Linked DNA regions of Homo sapiens: all the other regions are linked to region 2. The links are contacts of gene promoters, found by promoter capture Hi-C in blood cells and fetal thymus (Javierre and others, 2016). All regions are on one chromosome and are shown on one strand. Each heading gives the region's core, a stretch centred on a gene start or on the middle of the fragment in contact. The rest is flanking DNA. Distances are from core to core; before and after follow the strand shown. Region 1 overlaps OSER1-DT (OSER1 divergent transcript). Region 2 holds the start of FITM2 (fat storage inducing transmembrane protein 2). Region 3 holds the start of JPH2 (junctophilin 2).

Region 1 (3,552 bases), core at 831-3,330, 96 kb after region 2:
GACTGCATGCGAAGTCCCATGGGACAACGGGGTCGGGCCATTTAACACACACAGGGGAGCAGGAGTTGAGGGAGGGAAAGTCAACATAATAGGTTTTTCTTGCCCTCCAGAAATTTAGAATCTAGCAGGAGATACAAGAAATGTACGGGTAAAGGGCTGAAAATAAGTTCAGGAGGGACCTGAAGAAGCTCCAGGTGAAATGTTACTGTGGTCGTAGAGACAGGGAGGGGACCTGAGCTGACGAAGTGGACGGGTGGTAGACAGAGGAGCTGGAGGCTCTTCAGTTGTAGGGAGGGGCAAAAAACAGATGCCCAGAGAAGCCAACAGGCCCCCAGTGGACTCTCATGGTAGAAGAAAGTGGGGAGGATCACCACCATTGAGGCAGGTCCTTAGGGCTGTGGCTCCAGGAACTCCATTTTGTCAGGGTACCCAGAGCCAAACAAATTCTGCGGGATGGACTATCTGTTGACTGAAGATCTATAAGCCAGGTGCAGTGTATTCATTTGCAGAAAGGACTATGTCCTTCCCACAACTGGAATGCTTGTGTTTGCCTTCCAGGGCTCCCTTGTTTCTTTCCTCTGATTATCTCCCACCCTCTCCTTAAGGGTCCTGACCTTTCCTGTGGCTTCAATGGCCACCTGTATGCAGACTCCACAGTCTTTATTTCCAGTCCCCACCTCCCATGTGAGCTTCAGAACCATATATCTGCATGCCTGCTAGACACCTCCACGCGGCTGCCCCACGGATCTCTCAGGTTCACTCTGTCCAAACTGAACTAATTTAGAGATATATCAGCACAGAGAGGCAGTGACAGCACAGACTCTACCAAGCTGCCTAGGTTCAAATTCTAGCTCTGCCACTTGTTAGCTGTGTGACCTTGGTGAGTTACTTAACTTCTCTTTGCTTCAGTTTCCTCATCTGGAAGATGAGTGTGATAATGGTAATCTCATAGAATTGTGGTGAGAATTAAAATGAGTCTTCTGATGCATAGGAAGAGCTATGAAAGTATTAGCCCTCATAGGCTGGGCATGGTAGCTCATGCCTGCAGTCCCAGCACTTTGGGAGGCTGAGGCAGGCAGATCACTTGAGGCCAGGAGTCCGAGAGCAGCCTGGCCAACATGGCAAAACGCTGTCTCCACAAACAAACAAACAAACAAAAATTAGCCAGGCATGGTGGCACACGTGGGTGACTAAGGCAGGAGAATCACTTGAATTAGGGAAGCAGAGGTTGCAGTGAGCCAAGATTGCACCACTGCACCCCAGCCTGGGCAACAGAGCAAGACTCTGTCTCAAAAAAAAGAAAAGAAAAGGAAAGAAATAAAAGAAAGTATTAGCTGTTACTATGATTCTCCATTTAAATGTTCTTCCTCTGCTCACTGTCAGCTGGGTTCAACAGAGTTTAATTGAGATGGGCACCAATATCCATTCAGTTGCTCAAACTGGAAAGCAAAGTATCATTGTCAGCTTTCTCTCACTGCCCATCCTGTTCGTAGTCAATCTCTCCCCAAGGCCTGATCTACGCAACTTTCCAATCGGCTCACTTGTTCTCCATACTTAGGGCCACCTGCCCCTTCGATCACCATCATCTCAGGCCTGGATCACCATGCCGGCTCACGCTGAAACCAGTCATCTTTCTAAAATAAATTTGGTCATTTCTTTCCATAGCTCCTACAGTTCTCAGAAGGAGAAACCTCAGGATAAGTCCCTTGCTGCAGCCTTTGGGACCTGATTCCTCCTTTCATCTGCACTTGAAACTTTTATGTTCAAAACCAAACCGTCTCACACTCCCCAAACCTAGTCTTCTTGGATTCCCTTCCTTAGTGAAGGGGGCCACCTACTGGCACGGCTCAGGCCAGACATCTGCTCAGCAGGCTGCCGAGCCCTGCTGGTCTCACCATCCTTCAGCCATGGTTCCCATTCTGGTCTTCCCTCAGATTATTTCGAGTGTCTTCTAACTGGTCTCTCTTACATTCCCCACCCTCCCCATCTACTTTCTAAGAGTCTGCTGGAATGATATAAATTGCTACTAAAAATACAAAAATTAGCAGAGCATGGTGGTGCTCACCTGTAATCCCAGCTACTGAGGAGGCTGAGGCACGAGAATCAGTCGAACCTGGGGGCGGAGGTTACAGTGAGCCAAGATTGTGCCATTTCACTCCAGCCTGGGTGACAGAGCGAGATCTCAAAAAAAAAAAAAAGGTTTCAATAGTTTCTGGCACACAACACTCAATGCCTTCCTTTAACAAGTAATTATTGAGAGCCAACTATGTGCCACATAGAGTTCAGGCCTTGGGGATACACTGTATTTTCATCAATTCTAAGACACCATCATTTTAAAGACTCACCACTTACTGTAGGAACAAGTAAGAAAGAAAAAAATACTACCAATTAAACCAGGACACACTGGCGATTATAAGACACATTCAGATTTTCTAACCGCTATTAATAAATTGTGGGAAAATGTGCATCTTTGATTAAAAAAAATAGTGACTAAAAAAAAGACACAAAGTCCCTGTCCTCGGGTAGCTTCTATTCTAGTGAGGGGACCAAAAAATAACTATACATTGTCAGGTAGTGACAAGTGCTATGATAAAGCAGGGTAAAGGGATACACAGTGAAGGGGGTGCTGGGGAAGCCAAGGAAGACCCCCCTGGGGAGCTGATATGAGCAGAGACTTTGAATGACAAGATGAACTGTGAGTAAACAATGCTCCAGGAGGGGAAATACATACAAAAGACCTGAGAGGGAAATATGCCTGCTGGGTTCAAATATATGCAAAGAAAGAGTGGCTGGAACAGTCCTAGGCCCTGGGCAGCCAATTTCCTCAAACCCAGTGGTATTTTCCAGGTGAAAGCAGGTATCCCTGGTCTAGCTGGGTACATACAGGAGGTGAAGGTGGGGAGGCTAAGGAAAGCAGTGTAACTCAGCGGTCAGCAGGGTGCTATAGTCAGACTGCCTAGATTGGAATCCCCGTTCTACCACTTACAAACTATGTAACCTTGGACAAGTTATCTAACTATTCTGAGCCTAGTTTCCTCAGCTGTAAAACAGACATCATAGAAGTACATTTCACAAATTGGTTATGAAGATTACATGAGCTAACATCTTGTAAATCAAGACAAATAATCATTATCACTATCTTCTATCCCAAAGTCATTTTAATTTAATTTTATTTTTTTTTTTGAGACAAGGTCTTGCTCTGTAGCCCAGGCTGGAGTGCCGTGGCATGATCTCAGCTCACTGCAACCTCCACCTCCTGGGTTCAAGGGCTTCTCATGCCTCAGCCTCCAAGTAGCTAGGATTACAGGTGTGTGCCCACCACTCCCAGCTAATTTTTGTATATTTATTTATTTATTTTTCAGTAGAGATGGGGTTTCACCATGTTAGCCAGGCTGGTCTCGAACTCTTGACTTCAGGTGATCCACCTGCCTCAGCCTCCCAAAGTGTTGGGATTACAGGCGTGAGCCACCACGCCTGGCCTACCCTAAGTCATTTAAAAAAGTATATCGAGGTAAGAAATAAATTAATTTGAGTCTTAAAACATAAGAACAG
Region 2 (3,803 bases), core at 475-2,974:
GAGGATCACTGGAGCCCAGGCGTTCGAGATCAACCTGGGCAACATAGTGAGACCCCATCTCTATTTAAAACTAAAGAAAAAAAAAGGAATAAAAATAAACTGAGTTTATAGTAATTTATTAGAGCTGCCACAGGAAACTAACATTGGGGTAAGGGAATGAGTCCAAGGTTGGGAACTGAAATAGACACCCAGCCCTAACCAGGGGTGAGGGGTTAGTTTTGTGATAAACTGAGCAACTGAGTCTCCAACAACTTCATGTGATCTCCCCATTAACCCCCAGCATCCAGCATTTTCATCCAACAGGCATAGATAGCTGTTTTGTGTTTCTTTGTGTGCTTTTTAAGACGGTCTCGCTCCGTGGCCCAGGCTGGAGTGCAATGGGACCATCACAGCTCACTGCAACCTCAAATTCCTGGGCTCAAGCAATCCTCCCACCTCAGCCTCCTGAGTAGCTGGGACCACAGGCCTGAGCCACCAAGTCAGCTAGTTTTTAAAATTATTTCTTATAGATACTGAGTCTCACTGTGTTGCCCAGGTGAAAATAAATTTAGAAATTTAAACTTTAAATGTAATAATTGCACCAGGTGAGATGGCTCACTCCTGTAATCTCAGCACTTTGGGAGGTGAAGGCTGGCAGATCACTTGAGGTTAAGATTTGGAGAGGTCAGATCACTTGAGGACAGGAGTTGGTCAGCCTGGCCGACATGGTGAAACCCCATCTCTACTAAAAATACAAAAATTAGCTGGGTGTGGTGGTGCGTGCCTGTAATCCCAGCTACTCGGGAGGCTGAGGCAGGAGAATCGCTTGAACCTGGGAGGCAGAGGCCTGCAGTGAGCTGAGATCGCGCCACTGCATTCCAGCCTGGGCAACAGAGCGAGACTATGTCTCTAAATAAATTAATTATATTAATTAATTAATTTAATAACTGCAGAGCGTGGTGGCTCACACTTGTAATTGCAGCATTTTAGGAAGCCGAGGCAGGAGGATCGCTTGAGCCCAGGAGTTTGAGACCAGCCTCGACAACGAAGCAAAACCCTGTCTCTACAGAAATAAAAATAAAAAAAATTAGCCAGGTGTGGTGGTGCCCGCCTGTGGTCCCAGCTACTCGGGAGGCTGAGGTGGGAGTATTGCTTGAGACCAGAAATTTGAGGTTGCGGTGAGCTGCGACGGTGCCATTGCACTCCAGCCTGGGCGACAGAGAGGGACCCCCCCCCAACTAACTAATAAATAAATAAATACAATAATTATTCCTAAGGAAACTTCATCTCATGTCCCTCTACGTGTGCCAACGTAATGAACCCCTGAGCTCATAAACTAGCTTTTGGGAAAGGTTGATCTCCTCTTGTCTCTCGCATTTTACAGATGAGAAAACTAAGACTCAGATGGCAGAGGTGTCTCCGAGGCTCCAAGAAAGATCAAATGATGCTGTGACTACTGCTCCAATTCTCCAGGGCTACATTTATCCTCTTCCAGCCTCCAGCAAATACTTTCACAAGCGCTTTTTCCCAGACCAGAGCAAGACGCGGAGGCTCGGGGAGAGGAGGCGGCCAGGAGAGCGCAGAGGAGACGAGCGAGTTCGGGGACCGTCACGCGCCAGAGGCAGCAGCGGCCACGAGGGGGAGCGCGCGGGCTCCGGAGCCCAAGCACGCCTCAAGCTGTGGGACTCGCGGGCAGTGCGCATGCGCTCGAAGGGAGGTGGAGGCGCAGGTCCGGGCGAAGGGCGATACGGTGGCCGAGAGGGCACGGAGAGGAGGACGGTGGCTGACGAGATCCGGCATGGAGCATCTGGAGCGCTGCGAGTGGTTGTTGCGGGGGACGCTGGTGCGGGCGGCCGTGCGGCGCTACCTGCCCTGGGCCCTGGTGGCCTCCATGCTGGCGGGCTCCCTCCTCAAGGAGTTGTCCCCGTTGCCCGAGAGCTACCTCAGCAACAAGCGCAACGTCCTCAACGTGTGAGTGCACCCCGGTCCTCCGCTGTCCCCGCCCGAGCCGGCCCGCTGTCGCCTCGCCCAGAGAAGCCGGTGCTAGCTGCCGTGGTGGACGAGTCATTGGAGGGGAGGTCCTCCTCCTAGCCGTGACAGCAGCATCTGCACGCGTGTCACGCCTGGGAGGCCCCGGGGTAGCTGGTGTCACTAGCAGTTAGTGTTTGCAGACCCACTTTGGGCAGCATGAGCTTGACTGGGCAGGTGGTGACAAGCGGGGTCGTGTGTGTCTCTGTATATGTAGGGGTGTGGAATGGGGTGGGGATGAACCAGCCCCTGTCACCACTCCCCCGCCTCCCCTTGGAGTTAGGAGCTGACCCCTGCCCTGTTTGGGAGATGCCATCTCACCTCTGTCCTGCCTGCCTGTGGCAGACCCCGCGCAGACCCCACCCTGCGTCAGATCAGATCCCTCCAGCGCGTGACAGAATCCCTTTACGACCTGTGGAAGAGCCTCGCCCCAGCCTGTGACAGGCAGAGCCCCCGCCTGTGAGATACTCACAGAGGGCTGGAACCCCCTAGTCTGTGCCCTTTCCCCTGGATCTCCTTGGATCATCTCAGCCACTCAGAATGCATGGCAGTGGCCCAGAAAAGCAATCCCAGCTGGGCGCTTTGAGACATCTCCTTAACTCCACCCATCCACTCCTTTGCTTGCTTACTTGCTTTTTTCAAAACTCCCGGTTAGTAAGTTTATTGCACAAAAACTCTGTTGCGGTCATAAAGGGAAACTCTGAAAGATAAAACTGCTCCCTTGATGTGAGCCTAAGTGTTTTCCAGAATAAGTGTCTCTGGCGTGTCCTGAAAGTCAGCCCAACTTTGGTTATCTGCTTAAAACCCTGGTTCCTTTCACAGGCAGCTTCCTCAAATGCCTGACGGGTCTTGGCTCTGGCAAGATCTTCCTTATCAGTCCCAGTGAAGATTTTAGTGACAGGCCTGGGGGTGGTGCCTGAGAATCCATTGGAACCTAGAAAAAAGTCCTTCTGTCCTTGGTCCACCTTCCTTCCTCACCCACCCTGAGAGGCTGGGCTAAGAATAGATCATGAGAGTGGTAGTGGCCCCAAGTCTCTGTCCTGGGTTTAGGTCAGCCACCTTTCGTGAACGCTGGGGAGGCGGACAAGGCAGCTGCTGCTTCCTCTGGCCTAGGTGAGCTGGGAGCCAAGTGGCCTGGCTGACAACACACCCCTGTTGTTTGAAGGTAGTCATGGATCCTGGAGTTTTGTTCCAAGCCTCTGTGCTGATTAATGAGAGGGAACTAGTGAATCCTGGGATATAGAAGGGACCTTAAAAATCATTTGGTCCTCTCAGCTCTGTTTGATAGCTGAAGAAACTGAGGCCTGGAAAGGTAGGAGGTATAGTAAGTTAAGTAAGAGTGAAGATTTGAACCCGTAAGAGTGAAGATTTGAACCCCGGTCTTTTGGCTTAAAGTAAGACCTTGTTGCAAGACTGTTTCTGCCGTTAGGAAAGAACCAGGCTGGGCGCAGTGGCTCACACCTGTAATCCAGGCACTTTGGGAGGCCAAGGCAGGTGGATCACTTGAGGTCAGGAGTTCAAGACCAGCCTGGCCAACGTGGTGAAACCCCATCTCTACTAAAAATACAAAAATTAGCCTGGCGTGGTGGTGCGTGCCTGTAATTCCAACTACTGAGGAGGCTGAGGCAAGAGAATCACTTGAACCTGGGAGGCGGAGGTTGCAGTGAGCTGAGATCATGCCACTGCATTCCAGCCTGGATGGCAGAGTGAGACTTTGTCTCAAAATAAATAAATAAATAAAAATAAAAATACAAAAATTAGCCGAGTGTGGTGGTAGGTGCCTGTAATCCCAGCTA
Region 3 (3,561 bases), core at 726-3,225, 120 kb after region 2:
GTTTGAGATGCTCTTCCCTTGACAGCAGAGCTAGAAAGAAGTTTGTGATTCTCCAAAGACCTAGTGAGAAGTGGCGAAAGCAGAACTCCCTGGGAGTAGCCCTGAGATGTTCTTAGAAGTGAATTGTGCAAGCAGGCTGTCAGTCAGCCTGGCCAGGGCTCACACCTAACCACCCAGAGGAAACAGTTTTTATCCACTACGTGCTCCCTGTCAGCTTGGCAAACAGACGGTGACAGTGAGCCCAAGAGGCTGGGTGCCTCTACCTGGTGGTGAAACGCAGATATAGAAGGGGCTCTTGAAGGTCAGCGGCTGTGACCAAGGATGGAACCAAGTCCTAAGAACAGGTAACCCACTGGAAGGAAAGCAGGGAACACTTTTTACCCACTCCCCAAACAGGAACAAGACTTCCGCAGTGACTTCACGTGGCCTAAGTTATCATGGGGTTTGGAAATATGTCAGATAAGTTCAAAGTCAGATAATTGTCTAATGTTCTCTAGTACCTTCTGTGCTTAGTTCTCTCTTTCTCTTCTGTCCCCATCTTCACACACACACTCACACACACACACTCACACATGGAAACACACACACTCTTACCACACACACATACAAACACACACACTCTTACCACACACACTCACACAAACACACACTTACCACACACACACAAACACACACACTCTTACCACACACACTCACATACACTCACACACACTCTCTCACACTCTCACAGACACACGTTCACACACACGCACAGACACACACACACACAGATCTTCCTAGTCTTGGTGGCTCTTACCTTTCCCAGAATTCCTCTATACTCCCATTAACCTTGGGCTTAGCTGGGATTTACAATCATTAGCTCTGGCCACAGCTTCTTGCCATGGAGATTTATTTGTTCTTTTTACTGGAGTTTGGTGGGAACCTGAGTGGCTGGGAATCCACCCAGGCCCTTCTCTCCTGGCCCTGCCCCAAGAGCTTTCTGAAGTCTGGCCTCACAGGCTCCTAGGACACTAGAGCAAAAGACAGCTCAGAAAGGGAAATTTTAAAAAATCATGACCCTTGAGAATTTCTGAGAGGACCTCATTACAACACAACCCTGTGTTGACAGGAAGGGGACTCCTTTGACCTTCAGGGTCTGCTGGGTCTGCGGCAGGGGGCAGGGAGGGCGCCGAGGCATCAAGGGGTGGGGAGAGGAAGCTAGCGGGACGCCCAGTCTGTGTCTCAGGCAGAGAGGAGGGCAGGCTCCTCTCCCTTCTCTTTGCCCTTCAGGAGAAAGAGAAAGGGAATAGATGGTTGCTTCTTGCACCAAGTTCTCCCCGGCTTCCAGGGGTGGAGGGAGCTCAGGGTGGTGAGTGAGCACTGGACTGAGATTCTGTGTATCTTCCAGACCCTGTTTCCACAGCCTCCCCTCTCTTTCTGACTTCCCTCCTCTGCTTTCGGAAGCACATGTGAAACTGTCTCCATTCCTTTCTCTTTAGGTCACTGGATTCCTTGATGGGGCTGGCAGTGGTGCTGTAACCCCAGGTCCCCTTAGGGCATGTGAGTGGTGATGGGGCTGAGATCTGCCAACCTCCTCGCTCTGGGGGATTTTCAGTGTTCCAGGACTGGGTGTTCTGCTGGTCTCCCTCTCCCCTCCCTTCCCCGATTCCCCGGTGCCCTCCCTGCGCGCAGACCCAGGGGACTCTGAGAATGGAAGGGAGCTCTCATTCCCGGGAGGAAAAGACACCAGGTTCCCTGGGCTGCCTGCACTCAGTTCTCAGCCTCCTTCCTCATGCCTCCAGCCACTGCCCGGGTCTGCGGCACGGGCGCGATTTGAAATACCCCTCCTTCCCGCTTTGAAGAAGGCTGGGCTGGCTGGGGGTTATTTTGGGAGCAGCTTCTGAGATCCAATGGCCTTGTTAGGGCAACACTGACCTTTCCGTCCCAGAAGGAGGGCAGGATTGGAGAAGGGGGCGGGGCAGCGGCGGGGAGACCGACAGCCCCGCACACCCACTGGGGTGGAGAAGGGGGCCAGCGGGCTGCGGGAATTCAGCCTCCGGCGGGGGCTGCCACCGAGGGGAATTTCCCCTCTTTGAAAAGGCTGGGGACCCCTCCACCCCACCCTTTCACTGGGCTTCTTAAAGAGATCACACCGTTTTCCCTTGGACTTCTTGGAAGGCAGACTTGGGACGCTTTGTGGGGACTTTGAACCTTTCCTTCCTGCTTTCTTTCCAGCAGGCAGCCTTGCTCTGGCTGGTGGAGTCGGGGCTCCCGGGCATGGCACTGACTAGCCGACCCGGTGCTGACTTGGCGCCGGGGCTCTTTCAGCCTCTGCTGGCATCCTGCTTCCCCCCTCCTGGGGTGCAGTGGTGAGTCTGGGGGCCTGCCCCCGAGGGCACTGGAGGAGTGTTGCAGGCATCACCCACGCCCTCTGCACCCACGCTGGAGGACGGGGAGGTTGTCAGGGGCTATGATGAGATGAGTGGGGGCCGCTTCGACTTTGATGATGGAGGGGCGTACTGCGGGGGCTGGGAGGGGGGAAAGGCCCATGGGCATGGACTGTGCACAGGCCCCAAGGGCCAGGGCGAATACTCTGGCTCCTGGAACTTTGGCTTTGAGGTGGCAGGTGTCTACACCTGGCCCAGCGGAAACACCTTTGAGGGATACTGGAGCCAGGGCAAACGGCATGGGCTGGGCATAGAGACCAAGGGGCGCTGGCTCTACAAGGGCGAGTGGACACATGGCTTCAAGGGACGCTACGGAATCCGGCAGAGCTCAAGCAGCGGTGCCAAGTATGAGGGCACCTGGAACAATGGCCTGCAAGACGGCTATGGCACCGAGACCTATGCTGATGGAGGTGAGGCCAGCTGGGGGCCCGCAGAGGTGGGGTGGAGCCAGGGAGGGTGAGAAACCCTGGTGGAGGGTGGGAAAGGCGACCGGCAATTGGCACAGAATCAGATGGGCTAGGAAGTGATTTGCTGTGTGGTTTTGGGCAAGCTGCTCTACCTTTCTGAGCTTCCATTTTCTTGTAGTAAAGATGGAGCTAATAAAGGGGTTATTGAGAGGATTAGTGGCAGTGCTTAGTACAAAGCCTGCCATGTAAGTGCACACTCAACACACAATAAAATATAACTACTACCATTAGCATGTTCGGTATGCCCCAACATAAACAGCCATGGAATATACTCTAGCAGAATTAGGGTCTAGTCTTAACTTTGCCATGAAAATTATTTTCAAGCAATAGATCATGAGGAGTATTCATCCACCCACCCATCCATCCATCCACCCATCCAACTATCCACTCATCATCTATCCACACACCAATCCACCCACCCGTCCATCCATCCATTCATCCATCCACCCACCTGCCTGCCCATCCATCCATCTACCCACCCACGCATTCATGCTTCCACCCAACCATTCATCTACCCATCCAGCCATTCATACATCTACCTGCCCATCCACCCATCCATCTTTCCATCCATCCATCCATCCATCCATCCATCCATCCATCTATGATCCATCCATGGATTCTTTTTTTTTTTTTCCAAGACAAGTTCTCGTTCTGTTGCCCAGGCTGGA

Evidence for each region. Contacts are between HindIII fragments. The CHiCAGO score rates a contact against its expected background, and 5 or more counts as called.
Region 1: a fragment that was not itself captured here is called in contact with the fragment with the promoter of FITM2 in region 2 in 6 of 17 cell types (naive CD4 T cells, total CD8 T cells, megakaryocytes and 3 more); the score reaches 7.0 in naive CD4 T cells.
Region 3: the fragment with the promoter of JPH2 here is called in contact with the fragment with the promoter of FITM2 in region 2 in 1 of 17 cell types (M2 macrophages); the score reaches 5.7 in M2 macrophages.

The regions. Positions count from the first base shown.
Region 1 is chr20:44,213,517-44,217,068 of GRCh38, reverse strand. OSER1-DT (OSER1 divergent transcript) reads right to left here. Exons shown (of 3, transcript NR_038339.2): 2 at 2,066-2,181. Among named protein-coding and RNA genes, the nearest start is that of OSER1-DT, 4.3 kb to the right of the region's middle. RefSeq lists a silencer at 1,759-1,848. The HindIII fragment of the contact is 6,345 bases long and covers 1-3,552 here.
Region 2 is chr20:44,309,123-44,312,925 of GRCh38, reverse strand. FITM2 (fat storage inducing transmembrane protein 2) reads left to right here and starts at 1,724. Exons shown (of 2, transcript NM_001080472.4): 1 at 1,724-1,950. The coding sequence starts at 1,778. RefSeq lists enhancers at 1,672-1,821, 1,418-2,147, 2,112-2,201, 2,148-2,877. The HindIII fragment of the contact is 15,971 bases long and covers 1-3,803 here.
Region 3 is chr20:44,185,602-44,189,162 of GRCh38, reverse strand. JPH2 (junctophilin 2) reads left to right here and starts at 1,975. Exons shown (of 6, transcript NM_020433.5): 1 at 1,975-2,836. The coding sequence starts at 2,458. The HindIII fragment of the contact is 12,085 bases long and covers 1-3,561 here.